Linked DNA regions of Homo sapiens: all the other regions are linked to region 4. The links are contacts of gene promoters, found by promoter capture Hi-C in blood cells and fetal thymus (Javierre and others, 2016). All regions are on one chromosome and are shown on one strand. The core of a region is centred on a gene start or on the middle of the fragment in contact, and the rest is flanking DNA. Distances in the headings are between cores, read along the strand shown.

Region 1 (2,700 bases), core at 16-2,515, 270 kb after region 4:
TCCTGAGGGGGCCTCCCTAGTCCCCGTTCCTGCTAAAGCCTCACCATCATCATAACTAAGAATAATTCCCAAGTCAGAAACTGAAGCTGTGTAAGGAACGGTGCTCTGAAATTGTACAGCACTCAGACAGTGGTAAGATTATTACCTGCTAAGGGAATGCAAATAAATTCCATTTGCCTATGCATTTTAACTGGGAAGGAGAAACTCATGCCAACAAAAATCATGGAATTCATTCCAAAGTCAAATGCATTTTAGATTCTCAAGTCACTATTTCCCTCAATGGATAACAGAGATCTAGCTGTATTCTCTACCATCAAATCTACTGAAAATGAAAAACATGGTGATCTGAATTCATTTACCTACAATGCAACCTCACACCACCACTTCTGTCCTACGCCAACCATCTACACCGGCTTAATGGTCAGAGTATTCAAATAGGGGATAAACGTAACAATAAGCAGTCAGAAATTACAAGGCTAAGGGATACTAAGAACAAGTGACTGAGAGAATGAATATGAAATCCAAGCAGGTAAGTTCATGGACACAGACACATGCCAAAGAGAACATTCCAAGTGGTTTCTTCCAACGCCAGGTGCTGTTCTAGGCCCCACGGATACAGCTGCGGAAAACACAAGACACAAATCTCTGCCCTCCAAGAGCTCATTCTGGCCCATGCTAAATATGCCTGTATCACCATACAGCTATTTCACTATAAACATGATTTCCTATACAAAGGATCTAAAATACAATACATGGGCAATAAATACTGCTCCTCCCCCCTTGCCATGTTTGAATATCCCATTTTATGTTTTTCAAACGGTATCATTAAACCTTCTGACATACAAGCAGCTTGGTACAATGGGAAGAACAGTTTAGAGCCTGCCAGATGGGCTTCCACTGACCAACAGTGGTTCCTCCACTGGCTGAGCAACACCCTGAATAAGTCACTCCACCTCCTGAGCCTCAGCTGCCTCATCTATAAAATGGGGACAGCCCCAGAAGGGCTTCCTGTGGATGAAAACAGCTTGTACAGGTGAAGCACACCACAGTGACTGGCAGACAGTTCCTCCACCCTTTCCAGCCTTTTCAGATGAGAGCTGAGTACAAGACTCCTGAGAAGCTTCAGGTGTCATGTGCTCCTCCTGGGGGACTGAGGCACTTTCCCATCACCTGGCGAGAATCGCTGCTTCCTGCCTTATACTTTGTCCTGAGTGCACACTCAGGAAACTTCAGCCCACTTTCAAAGTCCTCACCCACCACTGCCCTGGAGAAGTCGTTCTCCATCAAGGCCTGGGGCCAGGCCCACCTCCCCAAACAAGGAGTTTTCAGCCAAAGTTACTGGACAAATCCGAAGGCCTTAAAAGTGGCATTGCCCATGTTTTTAATCAGCATACAGGAAGGCATCAAAAGAAAGCTTAACCCATCTCAACTACTCACCCTCGTTCAGCAGCAACATCCCTTGACTAAACAAGGAACCATGGTCCTCAAAACACTTTGAGGCCCAAAGTCCACATACAAACATGCTCCAAAAATCCCTTGATCCTGTCAGGAAGAAGTTCTCTGGCCCTTCCAACCTAAGTGCTGGGCCTGTCCTGCAGAAGGGTCAAGTGGCAGGAGGGCAGGTCTATCTGTGGGGGCCTATGTGAAACCCCAGGTTCCTCAAAAGTCTGGATAGCATCTGCCTTCTTTACCAAAACAAACACCACGAGCGGAGCCAGCACTCTCCCTAGGCGTTCTGCTCACCTGATCCGAGGGACTTCCATAATCAGCAGTTCCAACCCTTGCAAGCTGACAGTTCAGAGGGAAGGGGAGGCTGCGCCTGCTTGGGTGCATCGTGTCCAGGCCATATGCTGGATCCAGGGCCTGGTGGCCCCCCAAGGCCACGGCCTCACAAGGGCGATTGTGCGTTCATCCTTGTCCTGTGGGCCACCCATCCTCGCCCCTCGGCTCCCACTCAGGCCCGGGCGCCGTGGACCCCGGCCTGCCCTGCAGAATGCTTCGCACGCACAGCACCCACGGCGGCAGCCTCGAGAAGGGCCCGCAGAGCAGCGCGCTGCCTTCTGGGCACACCGATGCCCGCCCTTCCCTCGCTGGCTCCTAGGCGGCCTCCCTAGAAGCGGCAACTGAGAAGGCACAGCACCGGGACCACCCCATCCCTGATGGAGAGCTCCCCTCGCTCCCCAAAGGCTGCAAAGAAGGCGCGCCCCAGGTACAGGGAAGGGGACCCTGGGTCGTGCACCAGGCAGGGGGCAGGACCCTGATGAGAGGCTCAGGGCGGGGACCGAGCGGGGCTGACGCAGGTTACGCTAGGAGTGGCGAAAAGTCCAGGGAAGGGGATCATGGTGGGGAGGGGGCAGTGAGGTCCAGACGGGGGCCATGGGCGGAGAAGAGGAGGTCCAGATTTAAGTTCACAGAGAGAAGAGGAGATTCAGGCTGAGGCCACGGAGAAGAGGGGAAGCAAACCTAGGCCGCTGCAGAAGGGGCTGACCGGGGTCCAGCCTGAGGCCATGGAGAAGGCAAAGGGGGAGGGACAGAGGGAGGCAGCGGCCTAGCCTGGGCCATGGCAGGGAGAAACGACGGCCTAGCCTGGGCCGGAGAGACGGGGGAAAGCAGACCTAGCCCTAGACCGGGGGAGGAAGGGGGCCCACGCCAGGGTCACCGAGGGGGTGCCTGGCTGGGGACACGGTTCGGGAGGGAGGG
Region 2 (2,736 bases), core at 11-2,510, 300 kb after region 4:
CTGGTCTTTTTTTTTCTTGAGATGGAGTCTCGCTTTATCACCCAGGCTGGAGTGCAGTGGTGTGATTTCGGCTCATTGCAACCTCTACCTCCTGGGTTCAAGCGATTCCCCTGCCGCAGCCCCCCAAGTAGCTGGGATTACAGATGCCCACCCCTGTACCTGGCTAATTTTTGTATTTTTAGTAGAGACAGAGTTTCACCATGTTGGCCAGGCTAGTCTCGAACTCCTGATCTCAAGTGATCTGCCAGCCTTGGCCTCCAAAAGTGCTGGGATTACAGGCATGAGCCACCGCGCCCAACCGGCATAATTTTTAATAGTGGCTCAGTATCCATTGCATGGAGTGGGGGTCATGATTTTTTTTGTTGTTTTACTTTTTAAAAATTGTTTGTAGAGACAGCGTCCCACTGTGTTGCCTAAGCTGGTCTCAAACTGCTAGGTTCAAGTGCTCCTCCCACCTCAGCCTCCCAAAGTGCTGGGATTATAGGCATGAGCCACTGCGCCAGTCCTGTATTTTGATTTTTTTTAAGTAACCCCCTAATGTTGTACAGTTTGGTTGTTTCCAGTTTTTCACCATCAATAGCAATAAACATCTTTGTATGTATCCTTCTGCTCATATCCCTAATTATTTTTTTAGCACTCACAAGTAGAATTTTGCATCTAAGGAAGAGCTACATTGTCAAGACTTTTGCTATTCATTGCCAAATTTCATTAAAAAGTTGTACAAATACACACCACTGGCAGCAGTGTATGAGAATGCTATAATAAAGGCTTTGGGCCAAGTTGACAATTATGAGCAAAAAAAAAAAAAAAAAAAAACAAAATCAAGAAGATAAGTGTTTGCTAAAGGCTCACCCTACGCCAGCTGTGTTTATTTGTTGAACTCTATCACCATGTTCCTTGGCCCAAACACTGAAGGTCCTTTAGATTCTTAGTTTATTTAGTGCCTCTTTCAACACTCTAGTACTTTGACCCCAGTCTTATCTGAAGGAAAGAGGATTTCTGGTAAATAGTTTCCAATTTGGAAACTCAACCCAAGCACTTCCATCCCTCATCCCAGTGTGGACCACCTCTGTGGTTTTAACTGCTGGGGATGAGTCAGAAAGTGATGCTGGCTGAGTTGGAACTGAGAACTGTAATGCTTATAAGAAATAATAGAGAAGGTTTGAGGTGAAAAAGTCATGTTCCGAGGTACAAAGGAAAAACCAATAACAACCCAGAGTTTGGAGTTTCATTCTGCCCTGCTCTGATAATATCACTATGGTGATGTTCTCCATAAACAATTGCAAAATAGCAAGATGAAAAGGAACAAGCAAGTTCCACCCAGGCGATCTGGAGTTATTTTAGGGATCAAGGCAGTGTCATCTGGGGTAAATATGGAATGCAAAATCTGTTCTTGTAATAATCATCCCCTTCTTTTGTGAGGCTGAACAAAGACCTGGCAAATCAGTCGTTTTGTGCTCAAAGAAGCACTGACCCAGTGTTCTCAGGGCCAAAGAGAAAGTGAAGCCAAAACAATGGAAATGATGGTTAATAACAGATGCTGGAATTATTCTTCTCACACCCATGGACTCTGAGACTCCACTGAGCCTGGTGTGGAGTCCAAGCGGGTGGAACAACGGTGATGTTCTTGGGTAGGGTTGGCCCAGTTGAGAGGCTGGGATCGGGACCCCAGGTTGCTGAGCTCGGTTGCCTGCCCTTGACCTTGATTCTTGGGCCAGAGTCGGTGGAGGGAAGCATCTTCAAGGCCACGGTCTGTCTCTGGGGCATCACCATCTGCTGCAGATGACATTTACTGCTCCTATCCTCATGCTATTCTCTTTGAACCCCTGACTCAGCGAGCCCCAGTCCAAAAAGCAGAACTAGCTATTTTTTGCATCAAGAAAAAGATGTCAGGCAATACACTTGCCGAATTCTTTGCTGACCCTGAAACGCTTCCTCTTTGCACTTAACTCCTGTTCTTCCTTTATTCTCTTTGCTGCCTTCTCTTCTAGACCACTAAATTGCAAGCGCCGCTATCTTCTCCAATGAAGATGCTCAAGGGAAGGGCTGTACTCAGCCATGGAGGCTGGCACAGTGCCTGGGGCACGCAAGTTTCTCCATAAATGTCAGCTCATAGGAGGTGAATTCAAAATCCCATGCCTACCCTAAAATGGACATTTCTCCGGCAGATCTGAGACTGAGGCTATTTGTTCATTCATTCAACAAATATTTATTGAGCACCTACTAGAAACCAGAATTTGTGCTAGGGACTGGAGCTGTAAGGGAAACAAGATTCCAGGGCCCTGTCCTTATGGAGATTACATTCTTGTACACTGTAATGCAAGTGGTGAGCACAGCTTCCATCTTGTCACAGTGGTGAGCACAACCTACTTCTCTGACCATTGGACAAAAAATTGCACTCCCCACTTACCTTGTCTTATTTTATATTTCTTTGTTGCTGATCTTTCAGTCTTTGCATGCAAAAATGTATCCTCTTTGAGGGTGCTTTATGATGTTCATTGCTGAATCCCAAGCACCTAGAACCACTTCTAGCATCCAGCAGGTGTGTTGGTCTATTTGGGCTGTTATAACAAACTACCATGGACTGAGCATTTTATAAACAGCAGAAATTTACTTCTCACCGTTCTGGAGGCTGGCAAGTCCAAGATCATGGCGCCAGCAGATTTGGTGTCTGGTGAACGCCCTATTCCTGGTTCACAGGTGGTGCCTTCTCACTGTGTCCCCACATGGTGGAAG
Region 3 (2,700 bases), core at 76-2,575, 260 kb after region 4:
ATCCATGACCAAGGACAACCCTTTTATTGGGACAGAGGCGACACTAATCACTGCACGCACTTAGGCTGAGGTGTGGTGGGTGGAGGATCAGACTCAGAGGTGAATCTGTGCTCCTGGCCTACTCCACCAGCTCCACAGCTCCGCCAGGAGGGTCTTTCACTCCCACACTGGGGAGGCAGAGCCAGATGCATGGAGCTATTCAAGGTCCTGCCTAGCTCCAAAGCCCTTACTCTTTGCACTAGACCAGGCTGCTTCCTTGGCTAATAAACAGTGAGAGCTGAAACCCAAACAAAAACAAGCAGCACACGTGAAGACAAAATGTTCCTGAGCTGCAACGTTTTTCAATCTTTTGAGCTCATAGATCACATGTCTAGGTCAGAGTCCTGAGCTTCCTCACGGCGCAGGTGATGTGAGAGGGGCTGAGTAACCTCGAGGTACCACTGAATGGCATCCTGCAGTCACTCAAAACGTGTGAGCCTGGAGGGACCCTGGTGCTCACATGGTCTGATATGCAAAGAAGAAAAAGAGGCATGGGGGATCGGGAATAGTTCAACATCACCCAGCACATCAGAGGCCAGGATGCAGTCCCAAGTCACGCTCCAGACTCCTGGTACAGTGCTCTTTTCACGCCTGCAGCATTTCCCATGGCATGCTGTGCAGGCCAATGGGGTTTAAGGGAGGTTTTAGAGAGCATATGGATGAATGCAGTTTAATAATTACCTATATTTAATATTCATAGGAAAAATATAACTAGCACATCAAACATGATTTTGTAGATGTTTCTGCTTACGAAGAGGCTAGATAGCGGTGTTAGGCTCAGGCCAAAGTTTTTTGTTTTTGTTTTTGAGAGAGGGTGTTGTTCTGTCACCCAGGCTGGAATGCAGGAGTTATTCATAGGAAAAATCCTAACACACAAGCTCCAGGGATCCTCCCGCCTCAGCCTCCCAAGTAGCTGGGACTCCAGATGCACCATCACACCCAGCTTTTATTTATTTATTTATTTATTTTGTAGAGATTGGGTCTCACTATGTTGCCTAGGCTGGTCCCAAGTGATCCTCCCACCTTGGCCTCCCGAAGTGCTGAGATCCACCATGCCTGGCAACTACGGGCACTGTGCCCAGCCCTCAAGCCAATTTTAAGGAAAGCCTCAAATAAATAATAATAAAAGTAGCATACAAATCCAGCAAACATTGTGCTGGTAGACAGCCACACTGGGCTCATTCCTGCAGTGCAGCAGGCTAAAGCAAGAAGGAATAAAAGGAAAGATAAAGCAAACAGAAGGGAGAAGGGAGGCAAAGAGAGGAACAGTCCCCTCCAGCGGCTCAGCTCTTGCGCTGAGGAGTGAGGCCCCCACAGCAGAGGACACGGATGTGCCACACTCATTCTCCCTACAAACTTATCTAGCCTAAGTCACCGCTCTTCTCACCCCAAACGTGCTAAGGTCCAAAGGTCCAAACACTGTGTATCAGCCCAATCACAGGGAGCAAATGGCCCTTTAACACCCGCCCTGAGACTACTATCAGAATGGCCTCCCTCTATCCCAGTATGTGGGACAGGTATCAGCTCAGATATTTAATCCATTTTCTTGCCTGAGTGATTCAGGTGTCCCCATTAAATTCTCTTCCATCTGCTGCATGCTTCCCAGTGCAGAGAGGCCAGAGGGCCCCCGAAAGCCTCCCCATTCACAAAAGCCCAAATGACCAGGGCTGTTTTGGTTTAAAGCACAATTTGGGTTCACATAACACCTCATTATGCTTCCCCGACATCGTTTCCACACCAGCATCAGATGCTGGGAACTAGAGCTTGAAAACACTGCAGGGCCGCAGAGCTCTCAAGAGCTGTGCCCATTCCACCCCTGCAGGGCCTAAGAATGCAGCCCTCAGCCAGGCGCAGTGGCTCACGCCTGTAATCCCAACACTTTGAGAGGCTGAGGCAGGAGGATCCCTTGAGCTCAGGAGTCCAAGGCTGCTGTGAGCTATGATTGAGCCACTGCACTCCAGCCTGGGTGACAGAGTGAGACCCCGCCTCCTAAAAAAGGGGGCTAGGCACTGACAATATGAACTCCAAACTATGCATATAGACTAAGACGCTGAAACAATATATTGAAAGGTTAACAGTGCTGCTGGCAAGCTAAGATTATGAATTATTTTTGTTTCTTCCCTCTTTTCTATATTTTCAAACTTTTCCATAATAAACATACTGCTTTTATAACAAAACAAAAAAACACAATAAACTTTTATTTAATGATACTATCAGGTTACAAAGGGCTCCCTCCTGATGGGGAGAGGGGTCCCTTGCCACTGGTGCTCACACTCAACCAAGCGCCATCCACTCCCCTCCACTAGCCTGTGGGCCTTTCACTAGCTCGGGGTCCCCAAGGCCTGGAACATAGGAGGCGCTCAGGGAATGATGATACACAGGGGTTGGGGGTGGAGTCGTGAAAAGGAAGTCAATGATAAACTCTGAGGTATCAGCTGTGCGGCAGGGTGGGGCGGAGCAGGGCAGGGCAGAGCAGGGCAGGGCAGGAGAGTGTACTGAAATAGAAGAGGGTAAATCAGAGCCTCCTTCCACCCAGGACTTCCTTCTCAGCATGGCCCTGCCTCCCACCCAGCTGCTTTGAAAGCTCTCCCACCCCTCACTCTTCTGGCTCCTCTGAGTTTAAATTAGTCATTTCCCCAGCACCCGCCATGCCCTCCTGGG
Region 4 (2,700 bases), core at 161-2,660:
GGAAAAATACTGCCAATCCAAATGTTTAAAACAAAAAGCAGCCACGTAATTTGAAAGTAGTATATTTGAAACCTGTTTACATCTTCAGAACATTCCTGGCCTGATGATTAGATAGCAAAATCCGTCTGTAAAGCTGACTGTGAAGTTACCAAACTCAACCATTATTTTATTATAATTTGTTAAAAACTCTGCATCCAAAGGATTACAAGTCTACAACAAGAAAAAGCACAAAAACAATTTGTCAAACCGTGGGCCTCCTTTGAGTAACAAATAGCAATTTTTAACCTCTGGATAGCAGCTAGATATACCCTTGTCATCGTGAAGCTAAAATGACCCAGTTAACAATTGCAGGGAGTTGCTGAAATGAGGTATGGCTAGAAAAATGAAAGTCAGTCTGGCTTTAAAAGCAAAAGTCTACCATTAAACTAATGAAAGACTGCTCTGAGCACAGTATGTCAGGAAAAGGCAGGCACTCTGAGATCACCATCTTTGTACCTACATAACTGTCACTAGCTAAGAATCGCTGTGCAAAAAGACAAAAACACACAAAAGGAAACCAACAGATAGTACCGTTTGTAAAAGAATGTGATGATATTTTAATGCGAGGGGGATGGGAGGCAGCAAGAGAACACACACACCACACATCCTCTGGGAAAATGATCTCTCAGACACACACTGAAATGTTTTTAATCAAAGACCGATACAGTAGGAATGCACAAGGAGTGCAACGTAAAAAGAGGTCATCAATGTAGCTAGTGGCTTCAGTCACAGAAATAGCACGTGCCCCCACTGATTACAGCACCGCGGGGAGACCGTTATTAAATTATACCGTACGGCTCCGCTCCGGCCCAGGCTAGGAGGATGAGTGCGGGCGAGAAATGCAAACTCATCTGTGACTTGACCCAAGGGGCAGCCCCGTGAACATTCCCTTAAGAGGGCGAATGCATCTCACTCTCAACCATGTCCGGCCACGCCCTCCCGCAGGGAGGCCGCTAAAGTTTTGCTCGAGAGGGGAAACTGAGGTAGAGGTGATTTACATGCGTTGGCGGAGGGAAACCCAGGCAAGCCAGTCTCCCCGGGCCCGGGACCCCGAAGCCGTGGCTGTGGCGGGGATCCTCAAGGGGGCAGGGGGCGGCCCGGAAAGCGGGTCCAGACGATCCGGCTCGAAATCCCCTCCCCCCACAACAGCGTCGCCCGCCAGAGCCGCCGCCCGGTACCTCTCGATGACTGAGGCCACCAGCTGCGGCAACTCCTTCATCTCGAAGGCGGAGTAGGACGCGGACAGCAGGGGCCGCACAGCCACCTCCCAGCCCGGGGTCGTGTCCGCCCCCGTTGCCGGGGTCCCCGGCGCCGGAGCCGCTGCCGCCGCCTCTTCGCCGCCGCTCGTCGCCATCTTCCGTCGTACTACTGCGGCTCCCTCCGGGGGCTTGCCACCGGCCCAGCGCCGCCTCCCAGGAGGGGGCGGAAGTGACGCAATCTGTCGCGTCAGACTGCGCGCCGCCGTCATGGGTCAAAAACGCGACGCGCGGAGCGGCCTTTGCTCTCACCGGGGTCGAGCCGCGGCGAGGGAACGGATCGGAGACGCTGCGCCTGCTCAGAAGGTAGCGCAGCGGGGAAAGGCGGGAGAGCGTTAACTTCTGAGCCTGCGCGGTGGGAGTTGCTCAAGCAGGTGGTAGCGACTTGGCTTCCGGGCAGCGGGTAAAGGTGAGTCTGGGGCATGGGTTCAGTGGGCAAGTCTAGGGCAGCAGAGTTGACTACGCCTCGGCGTATAGAATGGCCCTGGCCTGGGACAGCTAAGGACGACAAGAGGAGGCCGAAGCCTAAAACGCTTTCACCTGCTTCTTCCCCTGCCTAGATCCCCCCAATAGTAATACTAAAGAGCGCCATAGTTTACAAAGATTTCTCCCTCTCACAACACCTTTTAATCACTGATCCGTATTCCCTTAGCACTCAAATCTCTTCTGTTTGGATTGCCCTCATTAACAATCTGACCAGCTCGTACAATGCATCCCTCTTTGCAATTTGCCACGTATGCTTACGTGTTCCCCTTTTTTCTACTGGCAAGGAAAGAATGTAAGCTTTTATTCACAGGAGATGTCTGAGACTTTTGCCGGTAAAATGATCTGGCTACAAGGTCTAAGAGGGAAAAGCAGTTTGCTCGAGGAAAGGTATTCGTGCATTAAGGACAGTCCTGTGAGTGAGATATTGGTGGACGGCTTCAAGCTCTAGCCTGTGGCCTACAGCTGGCCTAAATAAGACTGGGAAGGAACTGTGAAGACGGTTTCAAATTCCTAAAGCCCTGAAATTCTCCCCCTAAGTTTAGGAAGAGCTTTTGTTCTTGGTGTGTAACACTGATAAATGAATTGGTACCTAGTGATTAATCTGCACTTTTATTAAGATATGACCTACTTTACCTTTTTTGAGACAGGATCTTGCTCTGTCGCCCAATAGCCCAGGCTGGAGTGCAGTGGCAGAGTTGCAGCTGGCTGCAGCCTCCACCTCCCTGGCTCAAGTGATCTTCCAGCCTCAGCCTCCCCAGTAGCTGAGACTATACAGGTGCAGGCCACCACTCTTAATTTTTTTTGTTTGTTTTTAAGAGACAGGTCTCCCTACGTAGCCCAAGCTGTTTTCGAAGTCCTAGGTTCCTCCCACCTTGGACTCCCAAAGTGCTGGGATTACAGGCTTGACCCACTGCGCCCA
Region 5 (2,700 bases), core at 60-2,559, 270 kb before region 4:
CTACAAAGCAGCCTTTGTCTCACAGATGAAACCCTAAACCAGCTGCCCTGACGTCAACTCTGGAAAAACAATGCCAAGCCAGCCTTCAACGTCACTCCTCTGCCAAGGTCTGGGATTGGGCCCTTCACCCACAAGGCCTCGCAAGGCAGTCTATGAAAACACAGAAACCATCTACCCATCGCCTACAGGGGCCCAGAAGGAGGAACGGCTGCCTTGCTGCTGCTGGGTGCAGGGCAGGGCTTGAACCCCTGTCTTCCAATTCCCCTATCTCAGCCTGCCAGAATGAGCTTGCATGTGTGGCAGAGAGTACTTTGGGTAACAGTCTGCAAGAGGCAGGTTCGAATCCTGATCCTGGCCCTACCTCATAGTGAGACCTCAGACCAGCAATGTGACCCCCTGAGGCTGCTTCCAAATCCACACAACGGGGAGGCTGAGACAGTCCATGATCCCCAGGGAGGCGGGGACAGGGAAAGATTCCCCCATTCATGTCCACATTCCATCAGGCCCTCCTAGGAGCCACAGGCTCCAGGTGACACCCTGCACTGGACACAGCCTTGAATGCCAGGTCTTGCCTTCCCAGTCACCCTGTGCTGACAGTCTGCTCGAGAAGAGAGGGGACATGACCTCCTCCTGGCTGCCCAGGCGGCTCTACCGGGGAGAGGAAGTGCTCAGAACACAAAAGGCCAGTCTTCAGCCAAAGCGGGAGGGAGCAGGCAGTTCTCACTGTGCCGCGTTTTCCTTTTGTATGAGATGGGATGGGATGATGAGAACCACAGGGTGTTGGTGAGCCTGACCCAGGAAAGGCTGCCCTGTCTCCTTATCTCCGGGGTAAGCCCTGGAGCTGGAAGGCTTGAGAACTTTGCCTAGAATGTTGGAGTTGGGTGAACCATAGAGGCTGATCCTTCATTCCCCCACAAAGACTATGTTTCCAGAGCTCCTTGTCTGGGGATGTGGCCTGACAAATAGTACTTTGGCATTTGTTCACATTTTTATGTGTACAAATTGGGGCCTGGGGGCTGGTGGGAGCCAGGCCAGGGCAGGAGGGAGGGAGCGGTAACAGCTGAGGGGCCAGCAGCACACGTAGCACTCTGCAGGCAACATCAAATCCTCGCAACCTCATCAGCTAAGATTGTCATCCCCATTTTACAGATGAGAGAACTGAGGCTCAGAGCAGTAACACAACTCCAAGCAGTGTCACCTCAGAGCCAGAGTTCCCACCCAAGAGAAGGCCCAAATCACGGGCCAACAGGAAACATGAAGCAAGAGCAAATGAAGCAATTTCTTTTTAATTCCCCACAATTGAATTATGTCTTAGGGCTCAGAAAAGGAATAACCTACAAGTTGGAGGTCCCTCAACTTGGCATCAGGTTAATTCTGGCTCTGCCAGCAGTAGCTTGCTGAGTTCAGGCCATCAGTCTCCAAGTCAGATAAGTCCTGATGTTTTATTTTATATTATTTCTTTTTTTTTTTTTTTTGAGATGGAGTCTCATTCTGTCGCCTAGGCTGGAGTGCAGTGGCAAGATCTTGGCTCACTGCAACCTCCACCTTGCGGGTTCAAGCCATTCTCCTGCCTCTGCCTCCCAAGTAGCTGGGATTACAGGCTCGTGCCACCACACCCGGCAAATTTAAGTCCTGATGTTTTAAATGCTAATATTTTATTTAAAGGTAAGTGTGAAACCAACAGCAATGTAATATTAAGACTCAGCCAGCCATGGTGGCTCACATCTGTAAGCCCAGTACTTTGGGAGGCCAAGGCAGGAGGATCACTTGAGGCCAGGAGTTCAAGACCAGCCCCGGCAACATAGCGAGACCCCTATCTCAACAAAAATTATTTTTTTTAAAAAAAAATTAGCTGGGTGTAGTGGTGTGTGTCTGAAGTCCTAGCTCCTCGGGAGGCTGAGGCAGGAGGATTGCTTGTGCCTAAGGAGTTGAAGGATGCAGCAAGCAGTGACTATTCAACAGCACTCCAGGCAGGGCAACAGAGCAAGACCCTGTCTTAAAAAAAATGTCTTTCCATATAAAAACATGTGCAAATCCCAAAGTACTATTTGTCAGGCCACATGCCCAGACAAGGAGCCCTGGAAACATGGTCTTTATGGGGAATGAAAGATCAGCCTCTACGGTTCACCCAACTCCAACATTCTAGGCAAAGTTCTCAAGACTTCCAGCTCCAGGGCTTAACCCAGAGATAAGGAGACAGGGCAGCCTTTCCTGAATCAGGCTCACCAACACCCTGTGGGTATCATCATCCCATCCCATCCCATACAAAAGGAAAACGAGGCACAGAGAAATGGTGCAGCCAAGCACAGGGCTGGCAGATCGGGAAGGCAGATCAGTGTCAGCATCCCAAGACCTCAAAACCAGGCCAGAGGCTGGAGAAGTGCCTTTTGCGACATGGAGACAAACCCCACGGGCAACCTCAGATGTCTCTTTTGTAGGTGGAGGGAGCTTCATCCACAGCGCCAGGGACCCAGATGTCTGGTCAAGGAGCAGGGCCCTGTCTCTGCGGACCCCACTGTACAGGCTCCGAGTCATGCCTTTGGCAGTTGCTTCTCTGCTCCAAGTGCTCTGTCCTCTGGGAGTTTTCCAAACCCCTCCTGAAAGTGCCAGCAGCCCCCAGAGGGAGCCCTGAGCTCAAGGGTTTAAGGGGAGTCCTGTGGAGGGGACAGGGTGAAAATACCTGGGTTCCGGCCCCTGCTC

What was found. Contacts are between HindIII fragments. The CHiCAGO score rates a contact against its expected background, and 5 or more counts as called.
Region 1: a fragment that was not itself captured here is called in contact with the fragment with the promoter of UBR4 in region 4 in 11 of 17 cell types (fetal thymus, megakaryocytes, total B cells and 8 more); the score reaches 9.2 in fetal thymus.
Region 2: a contact is called between a fragment that was not itself captured here and the fragment with the promoter of UBR4 in region 4, in 1 of 17 cell types (neutrophils). The highest score is 6.4, in neutrophils.
Region 3: a contact is called between a fragment that was not itself captured here and the fragment with the promoter of UBR4 in region 4, in 6 of 17 cell types (neutrophils, naive CD8 T cells, megakaryocytes and 3 more). The highest score is 8.4, in neutrophils.
Region 5: a contact is called between a fragment that was not itself captured here and the fragment with the promoter of UBR4 in region 4, in 2 of 17 cell types (megakaryocytes and fetal thymus). The highest score is 6.5, in megakaryocytes.

The regions. Positions count from the first base shown.
Region 1 is chr1:19,482,447-19,485,146 of GRCh38, forward strand. All of the region lies in intron 1 of CAPZB (capping actin protein of muscle Z-line subunit beta), which reads right to left. It also overlaps a transcript of LOC105376819 not described here. Among named protein-coding and RNA genes, the nearest start is that of CAPZB, 1.7 kb to the right of the region's middle. RefSeq lists enhancers at 1,370-1,878, 1,879-2,386, 2,387-2,700. The HindIII fragment of the contact is 294 bases long and covers 1,119-1,412 here.
Region 2 is chr1:19,504,064-19,506,799 of GRCh38, forward strand. All of the region lies in intron 1 of LOC105376819 (a long non-coding RNA gene), which reads left to right. Among named protein-coding and RNA genes, the nearest start is that of CAPZB, 20 kb to the left of the region's middle. The HindIII fragment of the contact is 4,630 bases long and covers 1-2,736 here.
Region 3 is chr1:19,466,075-19,468,774 of GRCh38, forward strand. The region is part of intron 1 of CAPZB (capping actin protein of muscle Z-line subunit beta); the gene reads right to left. Among named protein-coding and RNA genes, the nearest start is that of CAPZB, 18 kb to the right of the region's middle. RefSeq lists an enhancer at 2,301-2,595 and a silencer at 2,324-2,373. The HindIII fragment of the contact is 3,479 bases long and covers 1-2,700 here.
Region 4 is chr1:19,208,856-19,211,555 of GRCh38, forward strand. UBR4 (ubiquitin protein ligase E3 component n-recognin 4) reads right to left here and starts at 1,411. Exons shown (of 106, transcript NM_020765.3): 1 at 1,218-1,411. The coding sequence starts at 1,393. EMC1-AS1 (EMC1 antisense RNA 1) reads left to right here and starts at 1,531. Exons shown (of 2, transcript NR_135114.1): 1 at 1,531-1,704. RefSeq lists silencers at 1,081-1,400, 2,426-2,495 and enhancers at 1,451-1,500, 1,751-1,800. The HindIII fragment of the contact is 5,774 bases long and covers 1-2,076 here.
Region 5 is chr1:18,941,382-18,944,081 of GRCh38, forward strand. The region is part of intron 1 of IFFO2 (intermediate filament family orphan 2); the gene reads right to left. Among named protein-coding and RNA genes, the nearest start is that of IFFO2, 14 kb to the right of the region's middle. RefSeq lists enhancers at 1-188, 1-208, 502-1,019 and a silencer at 1-188. The HindIII fragment of the contact is 5,184 bases long and covers 1-2,700 here.